Linked DNA regions of Homo sapiens: region 1 is linked to region 2. Evidence: promoter capture Hi-C in 16 types of primary human blood cells and fetal thymus (Javierre and others, 2016). All regions are on one chromosome and are shown on one strand. The core of a region is centred on a gene start or on the middle of the fragment in contact, and the rest is flanking DNA. Distances in the headings are between cores, read along the strand shown.

Region 1 (3,904 bases), core at 1,405-3,904, 1.1 Mb before region 2:
AACACCAATAACAGTAATAACAGCTAATATGGCAAAAATGAAAAATTCAGACGACTTAACTATACAGTGTTTATATAATGTTCATGTGCCATTGAGAAGGGGTGCTGGAAATGAGTTTTCAGCCTCAGTGTACCAGGACAGCAGGTCGAGCACAGAACTGAAGCCTTGGGCTCTGTCCTATCTCTAGGTCTAGTCTATTGCTTTCTTAGTCAAGTCATTTCCCCATTGTAGGTTTACCTAAAAAGAGGGGATTAAGCTGAATAAACTAAAAGAAAAAAAAAAAAACACAACATTTTTTCAGCTCAAACTTTATAAAACTACATTTGTTCATGTTTTGGGAGTTCCAGCATGAGCCTAGCTTGACATCGTAGGGTATAACAGGGCCTATTTTTCAGGTGGGTAGGAAAAGTCTAGTTGCATAATGATAGAATTATCTTGGGAGAATAACCCACTAAAAGAAGCTCACACCCTTGGGTCAACCACAGTGCTCTAGCACTGGAAAAAGAGGACAACATTGAGTTATATTGTTTACTACTTAGAGCTTCTTCTGGCCCAGTCCCTGGGATTAGTAGTTAAATTCTAGGAAAATTTCAGAGACATTGGAGTACAAATTACTCATAAGACCACTTAAATTAATTAAGTAGTTTCACCTACGAGGAATCAAAATACCTGACTCAAGCTTGTGTATGCAATAAGAACATTTATCTACATAACTGGATTTCAAAGGTAGGGCAGCATTAGTTTCATCCTAAGACTGGTTCTCCTTGTGCTCGCAATATGGCTGCCAGTGGCCATGGGGGATATATACTTCCTGGTATACAATGTAACATGAAATATGAGTCCTTGTTTTTATTCTGCTTATTTCATCTCGGATTATGGTGCCCATCCCTGTACTAATCTCAGGGGATGGAAGACTGCCATTGGCTTCACCTAATTAGGTTCTATCACCAGTGATCCAGATATGGTCAGTTTCCTCTGAGGTATTTGGAAAATAGGTAGTTTTCTGAAAATTACTTTGGTTCTCTAAAGTACTAATGAATATTTTGCAGAAAATGAACACCTTCCATGACTCTCACCCACTGGTGTCTGGGCTGGTGGGACAAGAGAGCATCTGCTGTTTGATGAAATAAATTTATGTTGAGGTTATCAGAGCAGGAGGTTGTTGACAAGCACGGGTGTCTATAATGGTCTTGTAAGAGCTGAAAGTGTTACTGGCGGTGAATCTGTATAGGTCTGCAGCAACAATTCTTACCTTCTCAGAAGAAAGAATTTGGCTCAGGGGCATAAGGCAGAGTGAGAGACTGAGGCAAGTTTTAGAGCAGTGGTGAAAGTGTATTAAAAAGCTTTAGAGCAGGAATGAAAGGGAGTAAAGTACACTTGGAAGAGGGCCAAGCAAGCAACTTGGGAGATCAAGTACACAGTTTGACCTTTTGACTTTGAGTTTTATATGCTGACATACTTACAGGGTCTTGGGTCCCCTCTCCCCTGATTCTTCCCTTGGGGTGGGCTGACCACTTGTGTGCTAGTGCTTGGGAGGGGCCGCATGCGCAGTGTGTTTACTGGAGTTGTACACATGCTTACTTGAAGCACTCTTCTCTTACCAGTTGATTGCTCCTAGAAGGTCATATACCAGTCAAACTCTGCCATTTTGCCTCTTAGTGTGCATGCTTGAACCCACTGGCCCAACTCCTGAGATCTTATCCGGAAGCTGCTGATCACCAGTTTCAGGTGTTTTCTATCTATTGGGAGGCTGCCTTTCCCTGGCATCTGGGTTTCTCATTCACTGCTATTGACTTGGGCCGAAATTACATGTTCCATGCAGCTGGAAGGAAGTTGCCTAAGAAAAGCTATCAAACACTTGTGAGGATTGGAGACTACAGCAAATCCACAAGTGATGAACCTGCTGGCTAGTTCAAGAAAATTCAAGAAATATATTTGGACAGACCTCTAGAGATTTGGCTAAAATAAAGAAGAGCAGACACTTAAAAAAGTATTTTTTCTTTGATTTGTGGTATAATTTTAAATCATGAATCTAACCCATTTCTTGATAGGTGGGTTTGAACTACAGAAATTCTAGTTCAACTTTTACCTCTTCTGAAGGCATCATTTTAATGTTAATGCATGTTGATATATGTCTCCTTTCTTTAGCAATAGGACTTCCTTGAGCTGATTAGAGTAGCTGTGCCATCTGCAAAAACTCTACCTTAATGCATCTACTTTAAAACCTTGAAAACCTTAATGCATCTACTTTGCATGTAAACAGGGAGCATGGCTGTGGCCTAACTGAATTTCAATGCCTGTAAGTGTGGTTTCCTGAAAAAGAAAATGAAACCCTGTCTCCATGTCTTCACAGCATGCATACTTTTTTTTTTTTTAAACTGTGCATCTGAGTCACACTGAACAACTCTCTTTCTACTCCAAAGGGGGAAAATAAGTTAAATTTATGTTTCATGCCTGTAAGGCATTTTAAAGTTAATCGGGCCCTTTGGGCCTAATTTAATTTGTGTAAGATTGCTGTTGATGATTAGAATAGCTATTTAAGATTTTTGTTAACAGTCTGTTATGTGGACTTAATGGAAGCACTCCAAAAGCAGTCTGTTCACTTTCCCCTGTCAAATTCAGGTTACAGAGCCTTCACAGATGTGAGTAGACATCAATACGAAAAGGGGATAGAACACAAATTAAAATCAGAAGTGTACTCAAACTGCCAGTGTTGAGCTTTGGTTAAAAACATCTGTCACATAAAAGCAAACACTCAGAGCCGTTACGTCTTGTAACAGTTGTCTTTATTTTTCATATCTTTGGCATTTTCATCATTTCATGTTAGTGCTGTCTTTGGAATTTTTCATACAAGTGATTGCTTTTTTTAACATCACTGATTTCTCTACACAAACATTTGTAAGGCTTTTGTCTCAACACTACAAAGAGAGAGAATATCAAGCAGAGCTGGAATTTGAATGGTCTCGTAGAATCTGAAAAATGCTAAATGACGAGTTAATGGGTGCAGCACACCAGCATGGCACATGTATACATATGTAACTCACCTGCACATTGTGCACATGTACCCTAAAACTTAAAGTATAATAATAATAAAAAAAGATTTTACTTTAAAAAAAAAAAAAAAGAAAAATCGGCTGACCAACGCAGAGCACTTTAGCGAAGTGAATGTATTTGACTCATTCTGGCCAACATTAGATCAAACTCTCCCTTTGATTCCTGCTACAAGGTTATTTTTCATCGTTTCAAAATTTACAGCTACCATTCTTATTTTACAGATGTCAGTGATCATAAGAAGCCCAGGTCTCCCTTCGGTACTATCAAGGAGATTTCAGGATGCTCTTGAGTCACTTTCCTGATATTTGTCATAAATCACATCTATTTTTTTCAGAGTTAAGATTTTATTTCTCTCATTACTTTGTTTCATAGCTTTTACAATTTCATTCCTTTATTCTGTTTTCATTTTCTGTTTTCCAGGCGTTGTATTTCAAAACCATGGCCCTTCTATTTCCTCTTTCTTATTGTTTTTCTCTTCCATGTTCACTTCTGCCTTCCTTAATTTTCTTTCCCTTCCTTTACTCTCATTTCTTTCACAGAGTGAGTGATTTCTGTGAAAGCAAGGTAAGTGTCTCATGGGGTCCAGCTAAGGATGCAACCACCAAAGGCAAGATCAAGAGACAAATGAGCTCCACCTCCCCCAGCGCCATGTTCCCCTGCCCAGGAAACACCACCTGCTTCCTATGTGGCTGGAGGGGTGGGGGCTGTGCACAGCAGTGAAGATGCTAGGAGATTACAGGCAGATATTTTGCAAATAATCTCTTCTAAAGTTATTGATTCATATAAGTGGAATATAAGATTTACGTTAATCCTATTCCTTAAATCAGAAATGTCTAATGTTATACTGTTT
Region 2 (3,608 bases), core at 755-3,254:
GACGAATGCCCCTGGACATAGCTTGGCCACCAAAGGCTTCTGAATTCCTGACTTCTGGGCCTCAGGTTCTTTAAGGCCCTTTCGCTTTTTTTTTTTTTTTTTTTTCTGTATCTCCTCATATATTTATTCTTTTTCTGTGATCAGTGTCCTTTGCATGTTTTTGTTGGGTTGTTTGAATTTTTTATTTTTATTTTTTGGGGATGGAGTCTCACTCTGTCGCCTAGGCTGGAGTGCAGTGACACGATCTCAGCTCACTGCAACCTCCGCCTCCCAGGTTCAAGCAATTCTCCTGCCTCAGGCTCCCAAGTAGCTGAGATTACAGGTATGCGCCATATGCCCGTCTAATTTTTGTATTTTTTTTAGTAGAGGTGGGGTTTCACCATGTTGGCCAGGCTGGTCTCGACCTCCTGACCTTGTGATCCACCCACCTCGACCTCCCAAAGTGCTGGGATTACAGGCATGAGCCACCGCGCCCAGCCAAGGCCCTTTCGCTTTAAAGATTGTCCTTTTTGATCTCTTCATGGTATAGTCCTACCAACTTTTGACCTCAGTTCAATTATAAGTACTACAACATTACATACCTGCTCATGTCTACCATAGATTCTGAAAATTAACATACAAGCAAATGAAGCCCACCTGCTCCAGAAAGTAGCTTTTTGTTTTTGTTGTTGTTGTTTTTGTTGTTTTGTTTGAGACAGAGTCTCCCTCTGTCGCCAGGCTGGAGTGCAGTGGCGCCATCTCGGCTCGCTGCAACCTCCGCCTACCGGGTTCAAGCGATTCTCCTGCCTCAGCCTCCAGGCATGCGCCACCACGCCCAGCTAATTTTTGTATATTTAGTAAAGAAGGGGTTTCACCATGCGGGCCATGGTTGGCCAGACTGGTCTCGGTCTCTTGACCTTGTGATCTGCCCTCCTCGGCCTCCCAAAGTGCTGGGATTACAGGCGTGAGCCACCACACCCGGCCGAAAGCAGCTCTTTATCAGTGTAATCCATCCAAATTTCCCTCTTTCATTCTTTCGATGCCCCCAGAGGGAGTGGGAGTGCTACACAGGAGAGTCTGCGGACCAGGGCTGGGCTGCTGCCTGAAGGCTAAGATTCTGTGTGGTGGTAGAACAAGAAGTGTTGGGGGGCATGTAAATACAGGGACTGCCAGAGTGAAGGTTGCAGAACCGGGCTTGGAAGGATGATGAAGAAACTGGGCGACACTAAAGCGCCAGTTCAACAAGTATTGCGTATCTACGACGTGGTAGGCATTGTTTTGACACTAGAGATTCAGCAGTAATTCAACCAAAGTACCTGCTCTCATTGAGCTGAATTTCCGCGCGGGCACCTAGGTAACGCATATAAACACTCGTATCACATACATACACATGTACATGTCAGGTAGAAATGCTATTTATAAAACTGAAGCAGAGCATGGGAAGAGCGAATGAAGGTGGCTATTTGAGAAGACCCCCAAAAAAGCGAGACTGCAAAGCACTCGCGGTTGTTCCTTTTCTGATCTTCTAGCTACAGGCAGCGAGGTGCGCTCCCAGGAAGGCCCGCCCTCTTCCTCCTGATAGGGCGCAAGGTGCCAGGGACGCTCCCCCGCTCTTCCCCGCCCAGAGGCGGCCTTGTGGGGGCGGAGCTTTGTGCCCAGCAACATGAGCGCGGCGCGCAAAGAGCCGCGCGCGGAAGGGTCCCGGCATTCTCCTCGTTCTCACTAGGCGTGGAGAATTACTCCAGGCGGATCGTGGCATGATGGGAACTGTAGTTGACGACCGCCGCCCCGCGCCTGAGGGGCAGTAAAAGTCGCCAGGTCCGGCTCCATTTCTGGCACAAAACTTGCAGCACCGAGGGGTTGTGGAGAGCCCTTGCAGGGGAAGAGGGCAGGGTCATCCCGAGAACCAACGGGCACGTATAGCCCGGCGAACGCCCAAGCCGGTCACCGCCCCCGGTCACGTGTCGCCAGCCTCCGCGGCCGCGCGCCGCTCTCAGCACCGTTCCCGCCCCACCCGGCCCGGCAGTCGGCCCGCGCCTCCCCCGGCGCTACTGCCACCTCGCGCTCGGAGGCGTCACAGAACGTGCTCTTCTCTCCCCTCCCCCCTCCCGCTCTCCCCCTCCTCCCCCTCCCGCTCCAAGATTCGCCGCCGCCGCCGCCGCAGCCGCAGGAGTAGCCGCCGCCGGAGCCGCGCGCAGCCATGGCCGAGAACCCCAGCTTGGAGAACCACCGCATCAAGAGCTTCAAGAACAAGGGCCGCGATGTGGAAGTGAGTGTGCTTCCGCGGTCTGGGCCCGCCTGGCCGCGCCGGCCCGGCGACGCGGGGAGGGGCGGGGGGCCGGCGCCGGGCTGGTTCTCGTCGGCTTGTGGTCGGCCGGAGTTGGCCGCCGCCTCCCGTCACCGCGGCCCCGGGCTGGGCGGAGCGGGCGGCGAGACGCCGGCCGGGCTGCAGTCACCCCCCGGAGCTGCCGGCGCGGCGACCGGGAAATGCCGGCGTTTTCGGCCCCGTCACGCGGGCGCGGCCTGGTGTCGGCGAGGAGGGGATGTGGAGCTGAGGCGGGGTCCGCGGGCCAGGGCCGCCCGGATGAACGGGGATGCTGCCGCCCGGGCCCTCCGACCGCACAGCCGAGGGGGCGGCCGCTGCTTGCGCCCGCCACCGGTGCAACCTTCCGTCCGGTGCAGCCCCCTCTGCGCCTCCCGCGCGGCTCACATGGAGCCTCGGCTCTGCCGGTCCGGGCTCCTACCTTCTGCGAGCCGGGCCCAGGCGGGCGGTGGCGGCCCGCAGAGGGGGGTGGGGACCAGCCGGGTAACTGACTTGTTTGAGGGTGATCGATGGGGGAGGGTAGGATGCGCCAGGACCATTTTCTTATATTCCAGTGCTCGTCTTTGGACTAGTCGTGCCGAGCTGTTGCAGCTCATACTCCTGCAACTGCTGGCATTTGGAGCGAGCTGAAGGTGGACAATAGTTTGCCATCTATTGTGTTCAGGCTTCGGAAAAGAGGTTGCTCCGACCTCCGCTCATAGGACTTGTTTTCTTAGCCTTTCTTGGAGTGGGGTGTGCATAGGGTGATAATTTCTTTGACACGTTTTACTAAAATAAATTGGATACACAGGTTCATAATTCTCTTACATACCTCTTGCTCCAAGCTAGTAGAATTTCCAAGTGGTTGCAAAACTAAACATTCATCGCGGTCACTCAGTTAGTTGCTACTCAGCATGTTGCCATTGTCTCATTAAGGTGACATTAGCAGGTACTATTTGCAAACTCGGCTTATTGAGGCAGCGCTAGAGGTCTCTCTGCAGCTACTGAAAACAGTAAGTATAATGCACAAACTTCACTGGGACCGTGACCTTTGGATTTGTTAGGGGGAAAATGGTTTTAAGGCCGCAGCCTTCTTTGCTAATACTAGGCGACATGATTTGCAGTTTTGTAATTTTTGATAAGCTAGTGTGATTAAGAGGTGTGTTTTATCCTGTCTTAAGGAAGGTTGTGGGGTAAATATACCATTCAGTGTTCTATTTTGTAGAGAAACAGACAAACTCAGGCCGTTTTTCAGAGCTACAAAATTAAATACTAGTAGGAAAGAACCTAGGGAGATATCCGTGGAATTCCCATTTAAATGAGTCAA

The links. Contacts are between HindIII fragments. The CHiCAGO score rates a contact against its expected background, and 5 or more counts as called.
Region 1: a fragment that was not itself captured here is called in contact with the fragment with the promoter of KPNA3 in region 2 in 1 of 17 cell types (total CD4 T cells); the score reaches 5.6 in total CD4 T cells.

The regions. Positions count from the first base shown.
Region 1 is chr13:50,892,141-50,896,044 of GRCh38, reverse strand. The region is part of intron 1 of RNASEH2B-AS1 (RNASEH2B antisense RNA 1); the gene reads left to right. Among named protein-coding and RNA genes, the nearest start is that of RNASEH2B, 16 kb to the left of the region's middle. RefSeq lists enhancers at 2,310-2,459, 1,930-2,469. The HindIII fragment of the contact is 2,618 bases long and covers 1,346-3,904 here.
Region 2 is chr13:49,791,078-49,794,685 of GRCh38, reverse strand. It overlaps KPNA3 (karyopherin subunit alpha 3), which reads left to right and starts at 2,004. Exons shown (of 17, transcript NM_002267.4): 1 at 2,004-2,248. The coding sequence starts at 2,180. RefSeq lists enhancers at 1,709-1,838, 1,642-2,303, 2,304-2,965, 2,970-3,489 and silencers at 1,909-2,158, 2,279-2,848. The HindIII fragment of the contact is 6,989 bases long and covers 1-3,608 here.